Regions from separate parts of the Homo sapiens genome. Here all the other regions are linked to region 2. Evidence: promoter capture Hi-C in 16 types of primary human blood cells and fetal thymus (Javierre and others, 2016). All regions are on one chromosome and are shown on one strand. Each heading gives the region's core, a stretch centred on a gene start or on the middle of the fragment in contact. The rest is flanking DNA. Distances are from core to core; before and after follow the strand shown.

The links. The method cuts DNA at HindIII sites, captures the fragments that hold promoters and counts their contacts. A CHiCAGO score of 5 or more calls a contact.
Region 1: a fragment that was not itself captured here is called in contact with the fragment with the promoter of NANOS3 in region 2 in 1 of 17 cell types (total B cells); the score reaches 7.0 in total B cells.
Region 3: a fragment that was not itself captured here is called in contact with the fragment with the promoter of NANOS3 in region 2 in 4 of 17 cell types (total B cells, fetal thymus, naive CD8 T cells and 1 more); the score reaches 6.3 in total B cells.
Region 4: a contact is called between a fragment that was not itself captured here and the fragment with the promoter of NANOS3 in region 2, in 1 of 17 cell types (non-activated CD4 T cells). The highest score is 5.2, in non-activated CD4 T cells.

The regions. Positions count from the first base shown.
Region 1 is chr19:13,282,815-13,286,158 of GRCh38, reverse strand. It overlaps CACNA1A (calcium voltage-gated channel subunit alpha1 A), which reads left to right. Exons shown (of 47, transcript NM_001127222.2): 21 at 953-1,091; 22 at 2,763-2,892. Among named protein-coding and RNA genes, the nearest start is that of IER2, 130 kb to the right of the region's middle. The HindIII fragment of the contact is 3,325 bases long and covers 1-3,285 here.
Region 2 is chr19:13,875,535-13,878,832 of GRCh38, reverse strand. NANOS3 (nanos C2HC-type zinc finger 3) reads right to left here and starts at 1,699. Exons shown (of 2, transcript NM_001098622.3): 1 at 1,068-1,699. The coding sequence starts at 1,584. The HindIII fragment of the contact is 10,444 bases long and covers 1-3,298 here.
Region 3 is chr19:14,423,635-14,426,595 of GRCh38, reverse strand. No RefSeq gene overlaps it. Among named protein-coding and RNA genes, the nearest start is that of DDX39A, 5.8 kb to the right of the region's middle. The HindIII fragment of the contact is 8,906 bases long and covers 1-2,961 here.
Region 4 is chr19:14,533,974-14,537,032 of GRCh38, reverse strand. The region is part of intron 1 of TECR (trans-2,3-enoyl-CoA reductase); the gene reads right to left. It also overlaps a transcript of DNAJB1 not described here. Among named protein-coding and RNA genes, the nearest start is that of TECR, 5.9 kb to the right of the region's middle. The HindIII fragment of the contact is 5,775 bases long and covers 1-3,059 here.

The DNA.
Region 1 (3,344 bases), core at 374-2,873, 590 kb after region 2:
CCAAAAGAAATGTAACACAGGCCACATGCAAATGTCAGTTTAAACTCTCTAGTCGCCACATTAAAAAAGGGGCCAGATGTACTGGCTCATGCCTGTAATCCCAGTACTTCAGGAGGCCGAGGTAGAGTGAGCCAAGATGGCACCTCTGTACTGCAGCCTGGGTGACAAAGCGAGACTGTCTCAAAAAAAAAAAAAAAAAAAAAAAATGGTGAACTGCTGGGTGGATTATGTCTTAAGTTCATCTAGTGTCAGTTCTATGTGAGAGATTTTCATGAGTTTGCTGGATAAAGGCTTTCCATGGTCCTGAGACCTAAGATCCTAAGGTCTTGTCACTGTGCCCATTTTATAGATGTAGGGACTGAGGCTCAGAGAGGCTCAGCCTGCCCGTGGGCACATAAGCAGGCTGGGCTGCAGAATGGAAGCTCCAGAGGCTGATGGCTCCTCCCCCTGAGTCAAGAGAGGGGTGCTAATGGGGGCATGCCATGCAGTTTATGGGAGGTCTCAGTATTTCTATCTGTTCAGTGGGTCTCTTGGCACTCTCCCTACCTGCCTGCAAGTGAGGGTGTGAAGGTCCAACGAGGATAGGGGCAGGTCTGTGTTAATATCCCATGAGGGCCCCACCGCACTCAAGGCTATAGAGTGGTTGAGAGCAGGCTCTCGGGGGCCAGGCCGCCTGGGTTCCAAATGCCAGCTCTGCCACTTCCTGCTGTGTGACCTTAGACAAGTCACTTTACTTCTCTGTGCCTCAATTTCCTCATCTGTAAACAGGAGATCAGAATATATCAACCTCAGGGCTATACAAGGGTTCAGTGATGTCATAAGATGCCTGGTATATACAGCAGGCACTTTAGAAATGTCAGCCGCTTCTTGCCTGCCCTGGGAGTACACAGGAGTTCCCAGAGACTTGTGGGAAATTGTGGAGGGAGCCCTGTGTTGGTTCTTGTCCCAACAGTGAACAAAAACGCCAACCCAGACCCACTGCCAAAAAAAGAGGAAGAGAAGAAGGAGGAGGAGGAAGACGACCGTGGGGAAGACGGCCCTAAGCCAATGCCTCCCTATAGCTCCATGTTCATCCTGTCCACGACCAACCCGTGAGTATGGCCCCCAGCAAGGGCAGGGGGGGCCTGGGGCTCCCACCAGGGTGGCGGAAGTCAGGCCAGATAGAGGGCAATGAGTGAGTGTTGACCACCATGAGTCCAGGGATACCTTTGAACAAGTTGAAAATGGATGCTCCTTCCGTAAGTCAGGTAAGATGATTTGTCACAATATACTTTGTTGGAAGAGACCCCTGTCCTGCCATCCACTAGAAAATCATTGTTATTTATGACAATAAATAAACAAATTTGTCATAAATAAACAAATAAATTTGTCCTAAACAACAAATAAATTTGTCATAAATAAACAAATCTTCACTGTGATGTAAGAGGCACCCCCTTAGAAATGGCTGCCTTGTGCAGTACACAGCCTGAACAACTGCACGTGGCAGCCCTAGGACCTGAACTCTGTTTCTAACCTAGACTCTGTAAGGGTTTAGATTCTGGGCGGATAGTGTCTGAGTTCCATGGCCTTCTGTCTTGGGCATCTTTGAAATGGATAGACTATTTAGGGGAGAAATTTATCCCATGAATGTCGTAGTGGCTCGGAGGTTGTTTTAGAATTGAATGTCTCCCAGGGATATTTCTTGAAAGCCTGACCGCTCAAAATGCTTCTTGACAATGAAGGATCATGTCAGATAAGATGGGGGAGAAGCTGCTTTCTATAATCTGCCTCTTGGCAACTCACCCTGGGTAGTAATAAATAAAAGTACCTTTAAAGTACTTTTTTATTTAGTTGACTTATCGATTTTACTAAGGAAACACTTATGTGGTATCTACTCAGTGCCAGGCACTGTTCTGAGTGCCTTAAAATTTTTTTTAATTTCTCTGAGGTTGTTACTATGCTTAGCTCCATTTGACAGATGAAAAAACTGAGGTCCAGAGACGTGAATTCACCTGCCCAAGGTCACACAGCAAGCCAGTGGGAGAGCTGGAGTTTGAGCCCAGACACTGGCTCTAGCCTCCTTGTTCTTAACCACTCAGCTCTGCTGCCATTCACACAACCTTATGAACTATTTATTATTGGCTCCACTTATTAAGAGGTTAACTGGCACATCCCATTGGCACATTCAAGGCTCTGATAAGGCCTGCAATTCATAATTTCAATAACTAACTTTTTGGAGCCCCTATCATGAGCCAGGCATAAATTAAGTCTTGGGTCTCATGATTTTGTGAAGTAAGCACTAGTATTACGGCTATTTTACAGATGAGGGCACCAAGGCACAGAGGGGACAAGTAACTTGCCCAAGGTCACACAGCTAATTTTTAAAAAGAAAGAAAGAAATCTACTTAACCCATAGATTCACAATATTGTTTGGCCCTGGGACATTTAATATCGAAAAGCCTTTTTATCTCCTACAGAATTAAGGACCGTATTTCTTCAACCTAGCTTGGGGATCAAGATACTTCAAGAGGGTCGTTTGGGAGTGATAGGAACTTTGCTAAACAGGGCATGTGAATGTCTTCTCTCACCGAGGTCCCCTCTGCCTTCTTGGGGTTCCAGGACCCAGAGAGGGCCCCCACCTGGAGGAGTTTAATAGTTTGTTGTGTAGGAGGCCTTGGGGGTTGGAGATCTCAGTAGTGGTAGGTAACATGAGATTATGGAAGAAAAGGGTTTGTGAGCCTGTGGTCTGAGTGGACCTCTGCACGCCCATCTGTCTCCAACAGCCTTCGCCGCCTGTGCCATTACATCCTGAACCTGCGCTACTTTGAGATGTGCATCCTCATGGTCATTGCCATGAGCAGCATCGCCCTGGCCGCCGAGGACCCTGTGCAGCCCAACGCACCTCGGAACAACGTGAGTCCCACAGAGCACACCCCTTCCTAGCCTGGCTGCTCTGCCTCAGGCCACTTTCTCCTGCATCCAAAATGCTCATAGGTAGGGTGGGATGTTGGGGTCACCCCTAGGCATAGCCCTTATGGCTGCTGGTTGAGAGGGGAAGCTCTGATTCCTTGGGGATGCTCTTGGGAGCAAGACATTCCTTGAGGCAGTTTCTCTGTGAGCCTGGTGGGGTGGAGGTGGCCCAGAGTGACTGGGGCTGAAAATTGCTGGATTCTCTAATGGAGGCGTGAGACTAGCAGGATATGGATGTTGCACATTCTCTACATGGAATAGGGGGGTTACTGGGGCAGGGGCGGTGCTCAGAGGTGGTCCCCTCCGCAGTAGACATTTCCCTTTGTACACGAAGCTTTGAAAGAAACAACTATTTGGCTCAGAAACACAGCCTAAGCTTTTGGTTTTTATGAAAG
Region 2 (3,298 bases), core at 450-2,949:
CCGGCCTGGGAAACATAGTAAGACCCTGTTTCTATGGGAGGAAAAAAAAAACACACCAGGAATGGTGGTGCACGCCTGTAATTCCAGCTACTCGGGAGGCTGAGGCAGGAGAATCGCTTGAACCCAGGAGGCAGAGGTTGCAGTGAGCCAAGATCGCACCACTGAACTCCATCCAGCCTGGGTGGATAGAGCGAGACTCTATCTCAAAAAAAAAAATTAAAAAAAAAAAGGAAGAAAAATAAATTGATAAATAAATAAAATAAAAGTCTTCTTTCTGCATCTATAATAACCCTGCGGGCCAGATGTGGTGGCTGATGCCTGTAATCCCAGCACTTTGGGAGGCTGAGGAGGGTGGATCACGAGGTTGGGAGTTCGAGACCAGCCTGGCCAACATGGTGAAACCCCATCTCTACTAAAAATACAAAAATTAGCTGGCCATGGTGGCAGGCGCCTGTAATCTCAGCTTCTCAGGAGGCTGAGGCAGAAGAATCGCTTGAACCCGGAAGGCAGAGGTTGCAGTGAGCCAAGATCATGCCACTGCACTCCAGCCTGGGTGACAGAAAGAGACTCTGTCTCAAGATAAATAAATAAATACATAAACAAACTGGCTCGGTGCGGTGCTCACGCCTGTAATCTCAGCAGTTTGGGAGGCCGAGGTGGGCGGATCACGAGATCAGGAGTTTTGAGACCAGCCTGGCCAACATGGTGAAACCCCATCTCTACTAAAAATACAAAATTTAGCCGGGCATGGTGGCAATTAGCCGGGTGTGGTGGCGCGCGCCTATAATCCCAGCTACCCAGGAAGCTGGGGCAGGAGAATCGCTTGAATCCAGGAGGTGGAGGTTGCAGTGAGCCGAGATGGCGCCACTGCACTCCAGCCTGAGCAACAGAAAGAGACCTGTCTCAAGATAAATAAATAAATACGTAAATAAAATCAACTGCTGTTCTAAGCTCTCTCTAAGGTCTTCCCCTAACCCTTGGAGGTGGGTACTGGGGCTAATCTTACTTCACAGGGGGGCTCAGCCACTACCCTCGGACAGGTCCCCCCCAGCCACCTGTGCAGGCACCTGCTCCTCCTCCTCCTCCTCGGCGGTGGCCTGTGTCCTGTGTCTTCGCCTTGTCAGGCCGGACCAGCTTCTTGCCTGCCGAGTTTCGGGTGGTGTGGCTGTAGACGGAGGTGTAGCCCTGGCCAGTAAGTGGGCAGAAGCGTCGGGTGTGGGCGCGCTCACGTGTGGCGCCGCACTGGGGACACACGTAGTCCCGCAGGATGGGACACAGCACCCTGCCAGCCTCGTCCTTCAGCACGTGGGACTGGTAGATGGCCCGGGACTCGCCGTTGTGTTTGCAGAAAGAGCACAGGCGTTCGGGAGCTGGCGAGGACTCCAGGCTGCGCTTCTGATCCTTGGGTCCCGGCACTGGCACCGACTCCGGCGCTGGCATCGGCTCCAGGGCTGACACCGGCTCCAGCATTGGCTCTGGCTCTGGCTGGGGGCTCAGCCTGGTTTCAGGACCCTCTTTCCCACTCAGAGCCCTAACCAGGTGTGCCAAACCCAGGTAATCTGTCCACAGGTCAAAGGTCCCCATAGCTGGGCAGCATGTGCCAGGCGGAAGGAGTCACAGAGACAAGTAACCCTGCCTGGCTTAAGCTCCCTCCTTCTGACCCCTCTCTGCTGCCCCTTCCTTCCCCTCTCTGGAGCCTGGGAGTCTGTGCTGGCCGACCCTCCTTTTACCTCCAAGGGGGTGTGAAGAGGGAGGAGCAGGCTGTGGGAGGTTCCTTATTGTCACAGGGGGGCCTGGTGCCCCACTAATACTCCTCCTAAAGGGCTGTATGGCCTCTGGCTGTGCCGGGGGACTACAGGACACAGGGTGTGTGGGGGGGCATCCTGCGAGGTGCACCACAGCCCCCCGTACACACCTCCAGGGAATTGGGGGGCTACCCTGCCTCCCCTCCTTGTAGGAGTCCTTAGCCCTCCAGCCCCACTGGAGGATGGGGAGAATGGGTTGGAAACCCCACCCCCAAAGACTAGCAGTTACCAGTAACTTAAAGAAGTTAACTTAGTAACTTCTTTATAACTTTTTCTTCCTTCCCCTGGGCGGGGGAGTGGCCAGGTGCCCCTGGGTTCTTTGTGTGTGTGTGTGTCCAGGCGGGAGGTTGCTGATGCTCCAGCTGTCTCTGAAAGGAGTGTGGTAGTCCCAGGCTCATGGGCTGGTTGCGGGGGTAGGGGGGAAGGATCATGCCCCCCGGCCCCCAGCTCTGGTCTCCCTCCAAGAGTTTTCACATCGGTTGTCTTAGTGGAACCCCCATTGAATGGATGAGCAAACTGAGGTGTGAAGCCACCTGCCCATCCAGTTATTTATAAAGACATGCACCAGGCCAGGGAGTGGTGGCTCATGCCTGTCATCCCAACAGTTTGGGAGGCCAAGACAGGCGGATCACCTGAGGTCAAGAGTTCGAGACCAGCCTGGCTAACATGGTGAAACCCTGTCTCTACTAAAAATACACACACACACACACACACACACAAAATTAGCTGGGCATGGTGGCGGGTGCCTGTGATCCCAGCTACTCAGGAGGCTGAGGCAGAAGAATTGCTTGAACCCAGGAGGCAGAGGTTGCGGTGAGCCAAGATCAAGCCACTGCACTCCAGCCTGGGAAACAGAGTAAGACTCTGTCTCAAAACAACAACAACAAAAAGCACCACATCTGCCTCCTTCTTCTAGTTACTGGGGCCCCCTGAGGCTAGGTGCTGGGGAGGGAGCCCTTTCCTGGCGGGGGCTGCAGAGGGGTGAGAAAGAACCCTCTGGAGTTGGGAGGTGGGGGATAGCAAGTTGGGCTGTTAGGAGGGGACCCCTAGTACCTACAGGTCTTCAGTGTCCTCCCCGAGATGAGATCTCAGCTCAGTCCCAGGAGGGGAGGGTGTGCTCAGGACTTGGACACAGAGGAGAGACGCTGTGCCGCTTACACAGCTCATCCACCCATCCATTCATTTAAGAAACTTTTATTGGCCAGGCACTGTGGCTCATTTTGAGAGGCCGAGGAGGATTGCTTGAACCTAGGAGTTGGAGACCAGCCTGGGCAACGTTTTGAGACCCTGTTCCTACAAAAACACTTTTTCGAAATAAGCTAGGTGTGGTGGTGCGTGCCCGTGGTTCCGGCTACTGGGGAGGCTGAGGCGGGAGGATCAACGCTTGACTCCAGTTATTAGAGGCTGCAGTGAGCTAAGGTCACACCATTGCACTCCAGCCTGGGTGACAAGAGCGAGATCCTGTCTCTAATTTAAAAAACAAAACTATGGAG
Region 3 (2,961 bases), core at 438-2,937, 550 kb before region 2:
GAGGCAGGAGAATAACTCAAACCTGGGAGGCAGAGATTGCAGTGAGCCAAGATCATGCCATTGCACTCCAGCCTGGGCAATAGAGTGAGACTCCACCTCAAAAAAAAAAAAAAAAAAAAAAAAAAGGCCAGGCGCGGTGGCTGACGCCTGTAATCCCAGTACTTTGAGAGGCCAAGGCAGGTGGATCACGAGGTCAGGAGTTCAAGACCAGCCTGGCCAAGATGGTGAAACCCCATCTCTACTAAAAATACAAAAATTATCTGGGTGTTGTGGTGGGCACCTGTAATCCCAGCTACTTGGGTGGCTGAGGCAGAGAACTGTTTGAACCCAGGAGGCAGAGGTTGCAGTGAGCCGAGACAGTGCCATGCACTCTGGCCTGGGTGATAGAGCAAGACTCCGTTTCAAATAAAAAACAAAAATCATGCTACTGCATTCCAGCCTGGGCAACAGAGTGAGACCAAAGAAACAAAAAAACAAACCACCTCCCACCGTCAAAAAAAAAACAAACAAAAACAAATAGTCTCACCTTACTTCCAACCACATGGCCCTTGCACTGGCTGTTATCTGTTCTGGAATGCTTTTCTATCACATCTTTCCAGGGCTGGCCCCTTTTGCTCATTTAGTTATCTGTTTAAATGTAACATCTTCTGAGCAATCTTCCTAGACCACACCGACGTCATTTCTGGCCCTTGGCCCTGTTTGATTATTTTGCATGTTACTCCTCCCTGAAATTGCACAGAGCCTGTGCTACGTCCGTCTTTGTGAAAGGAATGAGTGGGCACAGTATGAGGTATCAGGCGAAAGGTATCCCAGACTGCAAAGGCTGGAGGGGGTAGCTGTCGCACTTCAGAGGAAGCAGTCAGTGTAGGCTTCCCTGAAGGGCAGGTACTGGAGTAAACTTGGGAAAGACAAGCTAGAAAACTGCAAGGTAGGCTGGGCACGGTGGCTCACGCCTGTAATCCCAGCACTTTGGAAGGCCGAGGTGGGTGGATCACGAGGCCAGGAGATTGAGACCGTCCTGGCTAACACAGTGAAACCCCGTCTCTACTAAAAATACAAAAAAAGGCCAGGCGCGGTGGCTTATGCCTGTAATCCAAGCACTTTGGAAGGCCGAGACGGGAGGATCACAATGTCAGGAGTTGGAGAGCAGCCTGGCCAATATGGTGAAACCCTGTCTCTACCAAAAATATAAAAATTAGTCAGGCGTGGTGGTGGGCGCCTGTAGTCCCAGCTACTCGGGAGGCTGAGGCAGGAGAATCGCTTGAACCTGGGAGGCAGAGGTTGCAGTGAGCCGAAATCATGCCACTGCACTCCAGTCTGGGCGACAGAGCAAGACTCTCTCAAAAAAAAAAAAAAAAGGACTAAGCGTAGTGCCTCAGGCCTGTAGTCCCAGTACTTTGGGAGGCAGAGGTGGGAGGATTGCAGAGGACAGGAGTTCTAGACCAGCCTGGGCAGCATAGGGAGAGCATCATCTTTAGTTATTATTATTATTATTATTGAGACAAAATCTTGCTCTGTCACCCAGTTTGAAGTGTAATGGCACGATCTCGGCTCACTGCAACCTCTGCCTCCCAGGTTTAAGCAATTCTCCTGTCTCAGCCTCCTGAGTAGCTGGGATTACAGGCGTGTGCCACCGCGCCTGGCTAATTTTTTGTGTTTTTAGTAGAGATGGGGTTTCACCATGTTGGCCAGGCTGGTCTTGAGCTCCTGACCTCAAGTGATCCACCCACCTCAGCTTCCCAAAGTGCTGGGATTACAGGCAGGAGCCACTGGGCCCAGCTTCTAGTTATTTTTTAATGATACTAAAGAGAAAGAAAGGAACAAAATGATGCAGTCTGATACCATTTGTATCAAACACACACACACACACACACACACATATATATATAAAGTGAAAAAATGTATAAAGTAAAGGAGGCTGGGCGGGGTGGCTCATGCCTATAATCCTAGCACTTTGGGGAGGCAGAGGCGGGAAGATTGCTTGAGCTCAGGAGTTCCAGAGCAGCCTGGACAACATGGCAAAACCTCATTTCTTCTAAGAAATACAAAAATTAGTGGGCCAAGGAGGTGGAGGTTACAGTGAGCTGAGATCTCACCTGGCACTATGGCCCGAGTGAAAGCCAGACTGTTTATTTTTTTCTTTTTATTTATATCATGTAATTTTATTTTTTGAAACGGAGTCTCGCTCTGTCGCCCAGGCTGGAGTGCAGTGGTGTGATCTCAGCTCACTGCAGCCTCCACCTCCCAGGTTCACAAGATTATTCTGCCTCAGACAACTGAGTAGCTGGGATTACAGGTGCCTGCCACCATGCCCAGATAATTTTTGTAGTTTTAGTAGAGACGAGTTTTCTCCATTTTAGCCAGGCTGGTCTTGAACTCTTGACCTCAGGTGATTCACCCGCCTCGGTTCCCAAAGTGCTGGGATTACAGGCGTGAGCCACTGTGCCTGGCCCAGACCCTGTTTGAAAAAAAATAAAAATTAGTCGGGCATGGTGGCAGGTGCCTGTAATCCCAGCTACTCGGAAGGCTGAGGCAGAAGAATCGCTTAAACCCGAGAGGTGGTGGTTGCAGTTAGCCGAGATCGTGCCACTGCACTCCAGCCTGGGGAACAAGAGTGAAACTCCGTCTCAAAAAAAAAAAAAAAAAAAAAAAAAGTAAATGGGAAAAATAAAAAGGGAAATGAAAGGAAATTTATATGAAGTAGCTTTTTAGCTTTTTTTTTTTCCTTTGGTAGAGAAGAGGTCTCACCACATTGCCCAAGCTAGTCTTGAACTTCCTGCCTCAGCCTTCCAAAGTTCTGGGATTACATGTGTGAGCCACTACACCCAGTACCTTTTCTATGTTTTGATATGTATAGATATCCAAATACCTACCATTGTAACATCACAAAGAAGATGAAGGTAAAAACAACAAAACAAATACTTAGCATTGTGTTGCAATTGCCTACAGTATTCAGACAGT
Region 4 (3,059 bases), core at 357-2,856, 660 kb before region 2:
CCTCCTCGACACCCCTCCCCGTCCTCAAGCCCCACCTCCTCCTCCTCGGCCCCGCCCCCTCCTCGGCCCCTCCTCCCCACATCTGCCCCGTGTCCAGAGGTCCAGAGGTGAGTAGGGCCGTACTACTTGTCAAATGTTAGCTGCTGCAAGGTGCTGCACCAAGCTGAGGCTTTCCAGGTATGTATCTGCTCATACGATGCTCACCAGACCAAGAAACCCTTGAAACGATAACCCTGGGAGGCAGGGACAATTATCCCAGTCAATATGAACATTGGGCAGGAGAGAGGAAGGGGCCTCAGCTGTAGCATTTGCCACTTTCCGTGATGTAAATACCCTACCTGTGACTTAGAGATGTCAGCCTGATATCCCTGAACACAGAGTTGGGAAGATGCACACCATCAGCCAATGTCAGCCGGGTCTCGCACACCCAGGTGTCATTTTATGGATTAAAAAGCTAGTTCAAGGCCAGCCGCTGTGGCTCACGCCTGTAATCCCAACACTCTGGGAGGCCAAGGTGGGAGAATCACTTAAGGTCAGGAGTTCAAGACCAGCCTGGCCAATATGGTGAAACCCCATCTCTACTAAAAATACAAAAATTAGCCGGGCGTGGTGGTGGGCGCCTGTAATCCCAGCTACTCAGGAGGCTGAGGCAGGAGAATCGCTTGAACCCAGGAGGCAGAGGTTGCAGTGAGCCTAGATGGCACCACTGCACTCCAGCCTGGGCAACAGAGGGGGACTCTGTCTCACGAAAAAAAAAAAAAAAAACTAGCTCGAGAAACTAAAGACCTTGCCCGTGGGCTCCAAACCTTGTCAGTGGCAGTTAAGCATATGAGCCTAGCACTGATCCAAAGCCCGTAAGCATTGCCACCTTCCCAGGAAGAGTATCAATCAATACTGCCCAACCCAAAGGGGAACTGGCCTGCAGCCCTGGAAAAGGCCTTGTTCTCTGGGTCTCAGGTCCCTCATCTGTAACTTTACAGAAGTTAAACCAGAAAAATTATCTCAAGCCTGGGGCTCTGAGATTCTGAGTGCCTACAGCAAAGAAATGGCCTAAGTACAAAGCTACAGCCAGGACAGAAGGGACTCCACCAGGAGAATCTGCCCAGTGAGTCACCATCTGCTCAAAGCAAGAAGCCTGCAGGAAAATCTGAAAAGCCTAAGATCCCCTCCAACCCCCTCAGGATCTTGGCCTGAGTCAGGCTAACATAGGAAAGGTCTTTATAGCTCACCACAGCTCAAGGCTCACCACTTTCCCTTTTTTTTTTTTTTTTTTTTTGAGACAGAGTCTCACTCTGTTGCCCAGGACCGGAATGCAGTGGTGCGATCTCAGCTCGTCCGCGACCTCCACCTCCCAGGTTCAAACGAATTCTCCTGCCTCAGTCTCTCGAGTACCTGGGATTACAGGAGTGCACCATGATGCCTGGCTAATTTATATATACATACATATATATATATATATATATATATATATATATATATATATATATATTTTTTTTTTTTTTTTTTTTTTTTTTTTTTTTTTTTTTGAGACGGAGTCTCGCTCTGTCGCCCAGGCTGGAGTGCAGTGGCGCGATCTCGGCTCACTGCAAGCTCCGCCTCCCGGGTCAAGCCATTCTCCTGCCTCAGCCTCCCAAGTAGCTGGGACTACAGGTACCCACCACCACACTCAGCTAACTTTTTCTATTTTTTAGTAGAGACGGGGTTTCACTGTGTTAGCCAGGATGGTCTCGATCTCCTGGCCTCGTGATTCACCCACCTCGGCCTCCCAAAGTGCTGGGATTACAGGCATGAGCCACTGCACCCGGCCAATTTTTATATTTTTAGTGGAGAGGGGGTTTCGCCATGTTGGCCAGGCTAGTCTTGAACTCCTGACCTCAGGTGATCCTCCTGCCTCAGCCTCCCAACGTGCTGGGATTACAGGCATGAACCACTGCACCCAGGCAAGGCTCATCACTCTCAATCCTGCCCTTACTGCAAGGGGCAGCCCATCCGATTTTAGGGCAGAGAAAGACCCTCTCCCAGCAGTCCACACTGACCCGCAGCACCTCGCCCTCCCTTCAGGGATGCTCTGTCCTCAGAACACAGCAGGAGAGCCACCAGCTGTCCTAGGGCAGCATCAGCAGAGAAGCCATCAGTGTGGACAAAACTGGAGTCTGACAAACCCAGGTTCAGCTCCCTGGCTTCCAGGCTCTGTGACCTTGACCAGCTTAGTTTACCTCTCTGAGCTTCAGTTGCATTATCTGTAAAGTAGAACAGTAGTTCCCATCTGATCAGGTGCTAATAAGACTCACCCCTGGGCAAGGTGCGGTGGCTCACACCTATAATCCCAGCACTTTGGGATGCCAAGGCAGGAGGATCGCTTGAGCCCAGGAGTTCGAGACCAGCCTGGACTAACATGGTGAAACCCCATCTCTACTAAAACTACAGAAATTAGCCGGGCATGGTGGCACCCACCTGTAATAACAGCTACTTGGGAGGCTGAGGCAGGAAAATCGCTTGAACCGGGGAGGTGGAGGTTGCAGTGAGGTGAGATCACATCACTGCACTCCAGCCTGGGTGACAGAGCGAGACTCTGTCACAAAAAAAAAAAAAAAAAAAAAAAAAAAAAAGGCCAGGCATGGTGGCTCACTCCTGTAATCCCAGCACCCTGGGAGGCCGAGGCGGGCGGATCATAAGGTCAGGAGATCGAGACCATCCTGGCTAACACGGTGAAACCTCATCTCTACTAAAAATACAAAAAATTAGCCAGGCATGGTGGCAGGCACCTGTAGTTCCAGCTACTCGGGAGGCTGAGGCAGGAGAATGGCGTGAACCCGGGAGGCGGAGCTTACAGTGAGCCAAGATGGAGCCACTGCACTCCAGCCTGGGCGAGAGTGCGAGACTCTGTGTAAAAAAAAAAAAAGAAAGAAAACACCCTAAATGTGGGTTATGGGGGACCCCAAGAGGCTCGCTTCTGGGTATTCAGCTGCGGGAAATGGGCAGTGACCTGGACTGCTGGAGGCTGAAGACAGACTGATTTTCTCAGGAATTAACAGGCTCAATTACAAGATGTAGTAGCT